Linked DNA regions of Homo sapiens: regions 1 and 3 are each linked to region 2. Evidence: promoter capture Hi-C in 16 types of primary human blood cells and fetal thymus (Javierre and others, 2016). All regions are on one chromosome and are shown on one strand. Each heading gives the region's core, a stretch centred on a gene start or on the middle of the fragment in contact. The rest is flanking DNA. Distances are from core to core; before and after follow the strand shown.

Region 1 (2,967 bases), core at 121-2,620, 270 kb before region 2:
AAGAAATGGTTTATTTAGAAAATAAAGTATAGAAATATAATGTTAACTGCTCCTGTGTGATGTCAAAAGTGGAAAGAAGGTGGGAAATTCTTATTTCATGTGGGATACTACTAAATACCTGGATGTTTTCAAGTAGTCGCATTTTTAGCACAGCATAGTCCAAGCATCCGGGTATTTGAATTTTTCCCTTTCCAGCTGGTAATCTTGATATGTTATAGATGTAGGCAAAGCCTCAAAGTTAAATCATTTCCAAATGCTTTGAACAGCATTTAACTAGAAATAAAATTTCATTCAACATCACCCTCTCCACCTTCTTTTATGTGCAGTTACTTTCCGTATCTGCAGCAAGTAGACAGAAGAGTGCCAAAAAAGAATCCTTCTCTGACTTCACAAATCAGTAGAAGGCCTGATGACTACATGCCCAGAACTTGGGTTTCAGACACACTATTAACTTGCCTCAATACAGTGCAAATAATTTTCCAGATTGAAGCATTGCTCTATTTAAATCAACCTTCCTGCCTATTAATAGCTGTGAAATACTAGAAAATATTACTGGGCCAATAAAGCATTGTGTCTGCTCAAATCTTTTTAAAATGAGGCAAGACACAAATACATACATACTTAAATACATATGTATATAACATTGCAGAACCTCCTTTAAAAGTTTAAATAACAAAATCAGCCATCTAGATTGATGTGGAGATTAAAAAAAGTGAACCAACTGAATTTCTAAGGAACCTTTGTATGCCAATATTCCATTTCCATATTTTCTTCTTCTTCTTTGTTTTTTGTTTTTTGTTTTTGTTTTTTTTTTTTGAGACAGAGTCTTGCTCTGTTACCCAGGCTGTAGTACAGTGGCAGGATGTCGGCTCACTGCAACCTCCGCTTCCCAGGTTCAAACAACTCTCACGCTTCAGCCACCCAAGTAGCTGGGATTCCAGGCGTGTGCCACCTCGCCCAGCTAATTTTTGTATTTTTAGTAGAGATGGGGTTTCACCATGTTGCCCAGGCTGGTCTCAAACTTCTGGCCTCAAGGGATCCACCCATCTCGGCCTCCCAAAGTCCTCAGATTACAGGCATGAGTCACCACGTGCCAACCCATACTTTCTTCCTACTTGCTTTATATTCACACTCTCCTTCATTGTCTTTTACTAATAGCAGCATTGTTTCCTGGGTATTTTTTTATGATAATTTTCTGCTTACCTCTGAGCACACCACTGCCCTCCCTCCACCATCCCACCACCCTCCACACACAAATGATTGCAGATAGTTTGGGATTTGCAGTGCAGAGGAAATGAACACACATAATTTATTTATTTTTTTCTTTTTTTCCTTGTTTCCTTCCTTCCTTCCTTCCTTCCTCCCTCCCTCCCTCTCTCTCTTTCTTTCTCTTTCCTTCTTTCTTTTAATATTGCATGGCCCATTCATCATTCTGTACAATTAGCCAAATGAAAGGTATCTTTGTTTTAGCTTGATCTGTAATTCTTTTCAGATTCATTATGTGCATGGCAACACAAAGAAACCATGGTACTTTTGGGCAGCATCTGATTCATCAGGAAATTCCTCCTGCTATGATATGTGGTTGGGGAGAACGTGAGTGATGTGATCCAGATGCATGAGCCACCCGTTGCCAGTAGTGCAGATGTGTTTTATACACACATGCCCAGATGGTGACCCCTGTGGCATTATTAATGAGTTCCAGATGCCAGGCTTCCTTCTTTGCATGTATGTGCCTCGATTTCATATATTTCATGTGTTTATTTATGAGGGACAGCATTCCTACATTTCATATATGGCAGTTACTATTTAAAATGAGAAATTTTAACTGCTCTGGAAATTGATAAAGAATCTTTTAAATTGATATGAAATGTGTCTCTCATTTCAAAATGACTAGCCATGCAATCACTGAATTCACAGAGCAAATTACTGAACTTTCCCTTCATATATTGAGAAAATATGGTGCTGAGTTACATTTTAAAGATAGTTAAGAAATAAAATATTTGCACACATAATACATTCTAATGATTTTTTGCTTTCTTTTCCTTTTTGATCTCCAAAGCCTATTTTTAAAAGTACAATGTCTGTACATTGAACATTGTTACTCACTATTAATTAAATCTAGGCATCAAGAGAAATTTGACATCTTCTAGAAATTGTTCATACTTATGGATTTACAGGAAGAGAACTGGTTTTATTAAAATATAGTCCAGCTGTGGCTCCAAACTATCATGGATTGTAACTCCATGGATTAGAAGAAATTGATTAGTCTTATATTTTGGCTTAGATCTAAAGTATAAAATATAAGAGCATAGTAGTTCCACTGAATTAAAATGAACCAACTCAAGTTTTTATTTTAAAAAACTCCAGTATTTTATGGGGAAATAAAAAAATGAAACAAATTCTTAAAATAGAAAGAGGAAAAATGCAAACGACAGATGATCAGACTTTGAAAGATGAAGTTCATGTCCATTTCCTTCTTTACTACCAGAAGTAATGATCTTTTAAGTCAGCAAATGTATAATTTATGATAAAGAACTATCTCCAAAATCAGCTACAGAAAATAAATGACCAATATGCTGATAAGATTTTTGTTAAGGTGCTACCCACTTTTTTTTTTTTAAGACAGGGTCTAACTCTGTCACCCGGTGCAGTGTCATGATCTCAACTCACTGCAGCCTTGACCTCAAGGGCTCAGGTGGTCCTCCCACCTCAGCCTTCTGAGTAGCTGGGACTACAGGCACATACCACCACGTCTGGCTAATTTTTGTAGAGACAGGGTTTGGCCATGTTGCCCAGGCTGGTCTCAAGCTCCTGAGCTCAAGAAATTCATCCACCCCCGCCTCCCAAACTGCTGGGATTACAGGCATGAGCCACCACACCAGGCCATGGTGCTGCATACTTTTACTGTCAATAGCAGAGGGTCAAAGTTGCTGAATGCTTAAGTAAGCACATCTTGAGTCTTGGTTA
Region 2 (3,025 bases), core at 168-2,667:
AAGTGGGTGTATTTTAACAGGAATTAAGGGCACTTGGAGAAAATCCAAGATGACAATCCTTGAGAGTCACATCTCCATCCCAAAGCTACTTAACGCTAATGGCAAATACCACTCTAACATTTATGAAATCAATACTCCTGTTGTCCTCAACCTCTTAGCCACTTGCCATCCACACAGCACCAGCTCACTTAGGGAACAGTGTGCACCCAGGACACCCACGGCCGAACAGACCGCTGGCCGCTTCCCTGCTGAGGTGGCCTGGGTTCCCACCTTCTGAACTTGGGGCCGGCCTGCCTCAGGCCCTGTCACATGGCGTGGGAGGAGCCGGGAAGGCCACCGTTGCCAGGTGTTCAGGCTCGGCCCCTAACGTTTATTTGCCTTGCAAAGTGGCCCGAACGCCTGTGCCGCTTGGACAGGGGGTGGGGAGGACCGGGGGCCTCCCCGCCTCTCCTCCCTCGTACACCCACAGCCGCCCTGTCACCTGGTCGTCCTCACCTGAGTGGGCAGCAGGAGTTCCCCTTCTTCTGCCTGCCACAGCTCCACCACGTTCGGCAACGGCTCAATCGCTGCAGGAACACCAAAAAATACACCACGTTTTTAATGCACGCTAAAGAAACGCTTCCTGTTTCCCCTACCGTCCCTCCGTGCCCCCCGCCTCACCAAAACACGTCTCTTTTTCCTCCTGGGAACAGAGGCCATCCCAGGGGCGAGCCAAGGATAAAAATACAATGGGTGGGGTGTGAGCCGGCGGCCCCTCGGACGCGAAGGCGACAGCGTGCAGGCAGGCTCGGGGTGCTCGTGCTGGGGGTGGGGGGACGAAGTGGGAGTGAAGACACCCCACGAGGCACTCCGGGCTCCGCAGCCCGAGCATCTGGAGTGTGGACCCTGGGCGGCCAGGCTCGGGGGAACAAAGCTGCAGGAAGCCGGGCCGCTGCGGGGCACCCGCGCGCGCCACACAAAGCGGGGGCTGCGCCCGGGGCGCAGGGGCCCGCGCACAAAGGCTCCAGGGCGCGAGCGGCTAGCGGTCCCCAAGCCCCGCGACTGCCCCGCTCTCCAGCTGTACGGGGCAGAGAGGCGCGGGACGGGACGCTGTGGTCAGAAAATGTTATCAGCGGAGAATCGCAACAGCTTTCCTTCCTCCTCCTGCCCCTTTCCCTTTCCTCCCCTCGCCCTCTTATAGATTTCAGCAGTTCCCTAAAAGAAAGAGCGGGGGCGGGGTGGAGAGGCAGAGCGAGCCCAGCGGCGCAAGGCTGACCTTGTCCCTGAGCCCCTCCCGGGCGACAGCAGGGCAGCAGGACCTGGAAGACGCCCAGCAGGAGGTTCACGGCCGCCGCGGTGCGGCAGTAGCAGCCGGGCTGCGGGCGTCGGAGCCCCGCCATGCTGCTGCTCGCGCTCCTCTCCGTTGCTCGCCGCGCTCGCCGCTAGCTCGCTGGCGCCCCAGCTGCCTCGCCCCGGGCCCGCCCCCGTGCCGCCCCGCCCCGCCCCGCCCCGCCCCGCCCCGCCCCGCGCCGCACCACCCCCGCCGCTGCCGCAGCTGCTGCAGCTCCAGACCCGGGCGCGCCGCTTGCTCTGAGCGCGTGTGCGCCGCAGATAGGGAGGGACGGAACGCGGCGGGGTGCGGGGGAAAGTGGACAATGCGAACCCGCGGGTGCCCCGCCCCGGCGCGGAGCACATGGCCGCGGGCCCGCCCCGCAGCGCGCACTCTGCGGGGCCCGGGCGCTTTCCTCGGCTGGGACGGGGTCGCTTAGAGCTGTCCGCGGGGACTAGCGGCCCACTTTTGCCAAGTGCATTTTCATGAACTTTTGGGTGGTTGCCGCTTTGTCGAGGCGCTTGGGCCACGGTCGAGAGATTACCCTCGAGGGAAGAGGTGGCGGTGGAGGTGGGAACGAGGAGTCGCCAAGCGAGAGGCCTTGGACACAGGATATTAGTGGAAATAATGCAGTGGTTGTCAGGAAACGCGAGTGCAGCCACATGGCCACTGCCAGTTATGCAGCGAGGATATCCGGTGGCTGCAAAGTCTGTAATTTAGAATAAAAAGAGCTCTCCCAAAACCCGAGAGGCAGACCTCAGCGCCGCGTGGCGGTAGTGCGCCCGGCACCCTCTGTGGACACTGTCCAGGTCCTGACAGGTGGGGAAGACTCTTCCTAGGGGATTTATAGCTTCAAAGACCCTGCAAATACTCCCTTTTGGAATCATATTGCAAAATTCAGCCAGCCTCTCCTGAAATATGGTTGGGGTCGAGGATGTGGTTAGTTGCCTGTTTCTAACATTAGTAGGATAATGGAAGTAATACGTGGAAATACATTTCCTAGTTCCAGGTTTTGATGCCTATAACTAACAAGTCCAAAATCTGGCATCTCTTTAAGTTAACATCCTGCCTTTACCAGCGATGTCGCAAACAAGGGCTTATTCAGAAATCAATTTGCATAACCTAGAAGTATGGGCAATCTTATGATTTTTTAAAGTTAACTTACTGCTTCCACTGTAGCTTGTATGAAATTCAGAGAATATGAACAATATAGTATGAAGAGGGGAAGTGATGGGACACACCTGTTTACCTTAATCCTCTGTTTAATTGCTCCTTGTGCCTTACAAGCCAGACTATAGAAAACCAGTGCTTGCATAGCAGACACAATCCTGAGAAGGACAAAATGAAATCTAGATCCTCTTTCCTAAAGACGTAATACAGTACTGTGAACACAGTCTCACACACTGTCTGCATTTAACTCCAAACAAGGTTAAATAGTCTAATTGCTTGGCCAGACTTAACATTTAAGTAGATTAGCATAAACGTAAGTTGTTGATGTGAAAAAAAAAAAGGGACACTTTGCATTTTCCAACTTGAATACCTCCAGTAGTCTCTGTTTCATACTTTTTTCTGTATTCCTTGCCAACATCTTCCTTTATTTAGCAAGGATCTCCAGTGCCATCTCAATGTGCCCTTTTTTTCTCTTCACTTCTCCAAGTTTCTATTTGCCCCTTGGATTCTGAAGGTCCCCCACGCAGTTAAAGGGACCTCCAGTGA
Region 3 (3,218 bases), core at 168-2,667, 350 kb after region 2:
TACTAGAATCAGCCAAGGTTGAGGTTTTGCAGGATAAGTATGACTTAGAGAAGAGAGAAGCAAGGGGTTGAGGAATTCTGCCAGGGAGAGGTTGTAATGAGGCAACTTGCAGTCTGAGCTGAGTAAGGAGGGCAACAATGAGGGAAGGAATGACAGAAAACGCACAGGCAGGGACGTCAGTGAATGAGAGCCCTTGGGCTAGAGTCCTAGAGCACAAGAGAGCTGGGAGGATGTCTGAGATCGATAATTTAAAGGTGGCTGAGATGCTTGTTATGACAAGGTCTACGGTGTGACCATGAGACTAGAGTGGCTCAGGTGGGAAACAGGATAAGGCACTGAGTTCAGTTGAATGGTGGGCTCCAAAAAGATATGTCAGTGTCCTGGAACTTGCGACCCTGTGACTATAATTTTATTTGGAAAAAGAGTCTTGGCAGATATAATTCAATTAAAGATCAATGGATGAGATCATCCTGGATTAGCCATGTGGGCCCTAAATCCAGTAAGTGTCCTTGTAATAGAAAGAAGGGGAGACAGACACACAGACACAGGAGAAGACCAAGTGAAGAGATTGGAGTTACACAGTCACAGGCCAAGGAACCACCAGAAGCTGGAAGAGGCCAGGAAGAGTTCGCCCAAAGCCTCCAGAGGCACTGTGGCCCTGTCCATGCCTTGATTTTGGATTTCCAGCCTCTAGATCTGTGAGATAATCAATTTCTGTTATGCTAAGCCACCGATTTGAAGCAATTTGTTTCAGCGGCCCTAGGGAACTGCTACTGAGACTTAGAAGCTCTAGTGTTGGTCAGCTCCTCCATACGGATGTAAAAATCAGAGGAAATGTGGAGGAGAAGGTAGTGAGGCAGAACTAGAGTTTTTAATGAATGGGATAATCAGAGGTTGGTAAGGACCATCATGAGGAAAGGCAGGATGTGGTGGAGCTGAATGGCACAGCTTCACATAAGCTGTGGGTTCTAGAGAAAAAAGAGAGAGATGTAATTTGGAAATGGCAGTAGGGGTGGGGGCTCCAAGGTGACCAGAGTCCCAGGGAACAGTTGGCCTTCAGTCCACACAGACACCAGGGCCAAGCAAGGAAGGGGCCGAAGAGGTGGGAGCATGCGGACCACAGCAGGGCTGGGTGTGGTGAGAAGGGGCTATGCTCCACGGGGTGGGGGCATGGAGAGAGCAGAGCGGAGCAGGGTGTGGGGACAGCTGGATGGAAGCTATAGGACCTCTCCTGGGACCCCGCCAGTAGGCACGTGAGGCCTGCTGCACCCAGTTCTTCTGTCCTGAGAGGGCTGCGGGCCATGTGCAGGAGCTGTGCTTCCTGGCACTAAGCTTGATTGTTGGCCTTTGAAGACTGCTCCCTCTGACAGCTGATGACGCCTTTTGGGCCACCACAGGCTTTCCCGGCACACCTGCATGCGGGTGCCTCGGGACTGCTCCAGCTCACAGCTGTCTTTACAGCTTCCAATACTGCCCTAAGGGCAGAGCTAAACTAAAGCTTTGGAGCTCGTTTGTCTAGATTGATGCCCAGATTATATCTCAGGATTTATATTAATGCATGTCTAACAATAAGCAATCTGTTAAATAAATTACAATACATTCATATGATGGGAGGCTATGCGACCATTACAAATTATGCGGTTGAAAACCACGGGAAAATGCTCACAACAGATAGTGTCTTGGTTTGTTTGGGCAGCTGCCATGACACCGTGCCATAAACATGGGGGCTTATAAACAAATTTATTTTTCACAGTTTTGGAAGGGGTGGGGGCCAAGATCAAGGTGTCGGCTGATTCAGTGTCTAGTGAGGACCTTTTTCCTGGTTCACAGGTGACACCTTCTCCCTGTGTCCTCACCTGGTAGAAGGGGCCAGGGGTTCTCCAGGGCCTCCTCTCGAGGGACACTAAACCCATGCTTGAGAGCTCTGCCCTCATGACCTAATCACCGCCCAGTAGCACCCACTCCTAATACCACCACCTTGGGGGTTAGGTTTCAACATATGAATGTGGCGGGGACGCAAACATTCTGACTATAGCAGGTAGTTAAGTGCAAAAATCCTACCAGATGATCCCAACCCAGCTAACTAATGAACAAACGTTTATCCACAGGCATACAGACACCTGGAAATAGACTATACATGAAAAGAACAACAGTCCTGTGTGGATACGAGTAAGGGAAATCTGTATGTTCCTCCTACTTTACTGTATTTTCCAAAAGGATGATGAATGTCTGTCACTTTCATGATCTGAAGAAAAAAAGGAAGAAAATTGGTCCTAACGCACTTCTCAAATACTTGTTTCCCCTCTCTCTGATAGGAGTATTTGGAGAGATTCTCATGGTTGCCTCTGGCTCCCAGTAGGTGTGAGACCCCATTCCCCTCCAGCTCAGCCTTCTCATCTCCCAGCTCCCTTCCCACTCCTGCGCTCTGCCCTGCTCAAGGCAGGTGCCTCTCCAATGTGAGCCCTAACTGTCCCTGCAACACCGAATCCAAGGATCTGGGCTTGGAATGACTGTGTGCTCATCTGGCCCAACCTGGGTCAGTGAATCATTTCTACAATGTCCTAGACGAGTGACCTCCTGGACAAGGTCTGTTGCCTTTTGGGTGTGACACCCACCACGTGTGCAGCTTTTTTTTTTTTTCTTCTAAGACTTCCGGCCTTCACCTGGTGCCTTTAAGGGTGTCCAGGGCACTCTGCCATCATTCCTCTGGCTGCTCCTCAGTGGGTGGCGCAGTGACCCACTGGGCCCTCCCTTCCTTCCCAGCACCCTCCACTCCTCTCCAGCTCCCCCATCTCCTCTTGATCCCTGGCCTCAGATGCCCTTTCTGGCACTTCCCCTGTTCTTGGGTCTCAGCCGGTATTAACTTGTCTTGCTCCCTTGGGTTCATCCTTAGTGTCCGGTTCCTTCTGCTCCATCCTACCCCCCACAGGATGCCCCAGCCTCTCTTGGACTCTTTGGGACTGTCTATTTCACCTCCTCCCTGATTGGTCTTTGGAATCAGAGAGATGACCAGGGAAGATTTGGAGAGAAAACTTCTTTTTTTGTGGGGGGACGGAGTCTCGCTCTGTCGCCCAGGCTGGAGTGCAGTGACGCAGTTTCGGCTCACTGCAAGCTACACCTCCCGGGTTCACGCCATTCTCCTGCCTCAGCCTCCCGTGTAGCTGGGACTACAGGCACCTGCCACCACACCCGGCTTATTTTTTGTATTTTTAGTAGAG

Evidence for each region. The method cuts DNA at HindIII sites, captures the fragments that hold promoters and counts their contacts. A CHiCAGO score of 5 or more calls a contact.
Region 1: a contact is called between a fragment that was not itself captured here and the fragment with the promoter of TMEM131L in region 2, in 1 of 17 cell types (monocytes). The highest score is 5.4, in monocytes.
Region 3: a fragment that was not itself captured here is called in contact with the fragment with the promoter of TMEM131L in region 2 in 6 of 17 cell types (naive CD8 T cells, activated CD4 T cells, naive CD4 T cells and 3 more); the score reaches 9.3 in naive CD8 T cells.

What each region holds. Positions count from the first base shown.
Region 1 is chr4:153,730,081-153,733,047 of GRCh38, reverse strand. The region is part of intron 3 of RNF175 (ring finger protein 175); the gene reads left to right. Among named protein-coding and RNA genes, the nearest start is that of RNF175, 28 kb to the left of the region's middle. The HindIII fragment of the contact is 3,306 bases long and covers 1-2,967 here.
Region 2 is chr4:153,464,752-153,467,776 of GRCh38, reverse strand. It overlaps TMEM131L (transmembrane 131 like), which reads right to left and starts at 1,417. Exons shown (of 35, transcript NM_001131007.2): 1 at 1,256-1,417; 2 at 496-566. The coding sequence starts at 1,379. RefSeq lists enhancers at 157-246, 1-406, 1,777-1,956 and silencers at 717-1,076, 1,447-1,546, 1,587-1,736. The HindIII fragment of the contact is 8,794 bases long and covers 1-3,025 here.
Region 3 is chr4:153,110,338-153,113,555 of GRCh38, reverse strand. No RefSeq gene overlaps it. Among named protein-coding and RNA genes, the nearest start is that of TRIM2, 92 kb to the left of the region's middle. RefSeq lists an enhancer at 786-1,285. The HindIII fragment of the contact is 166 bases long and covers 1,335-1,500 here.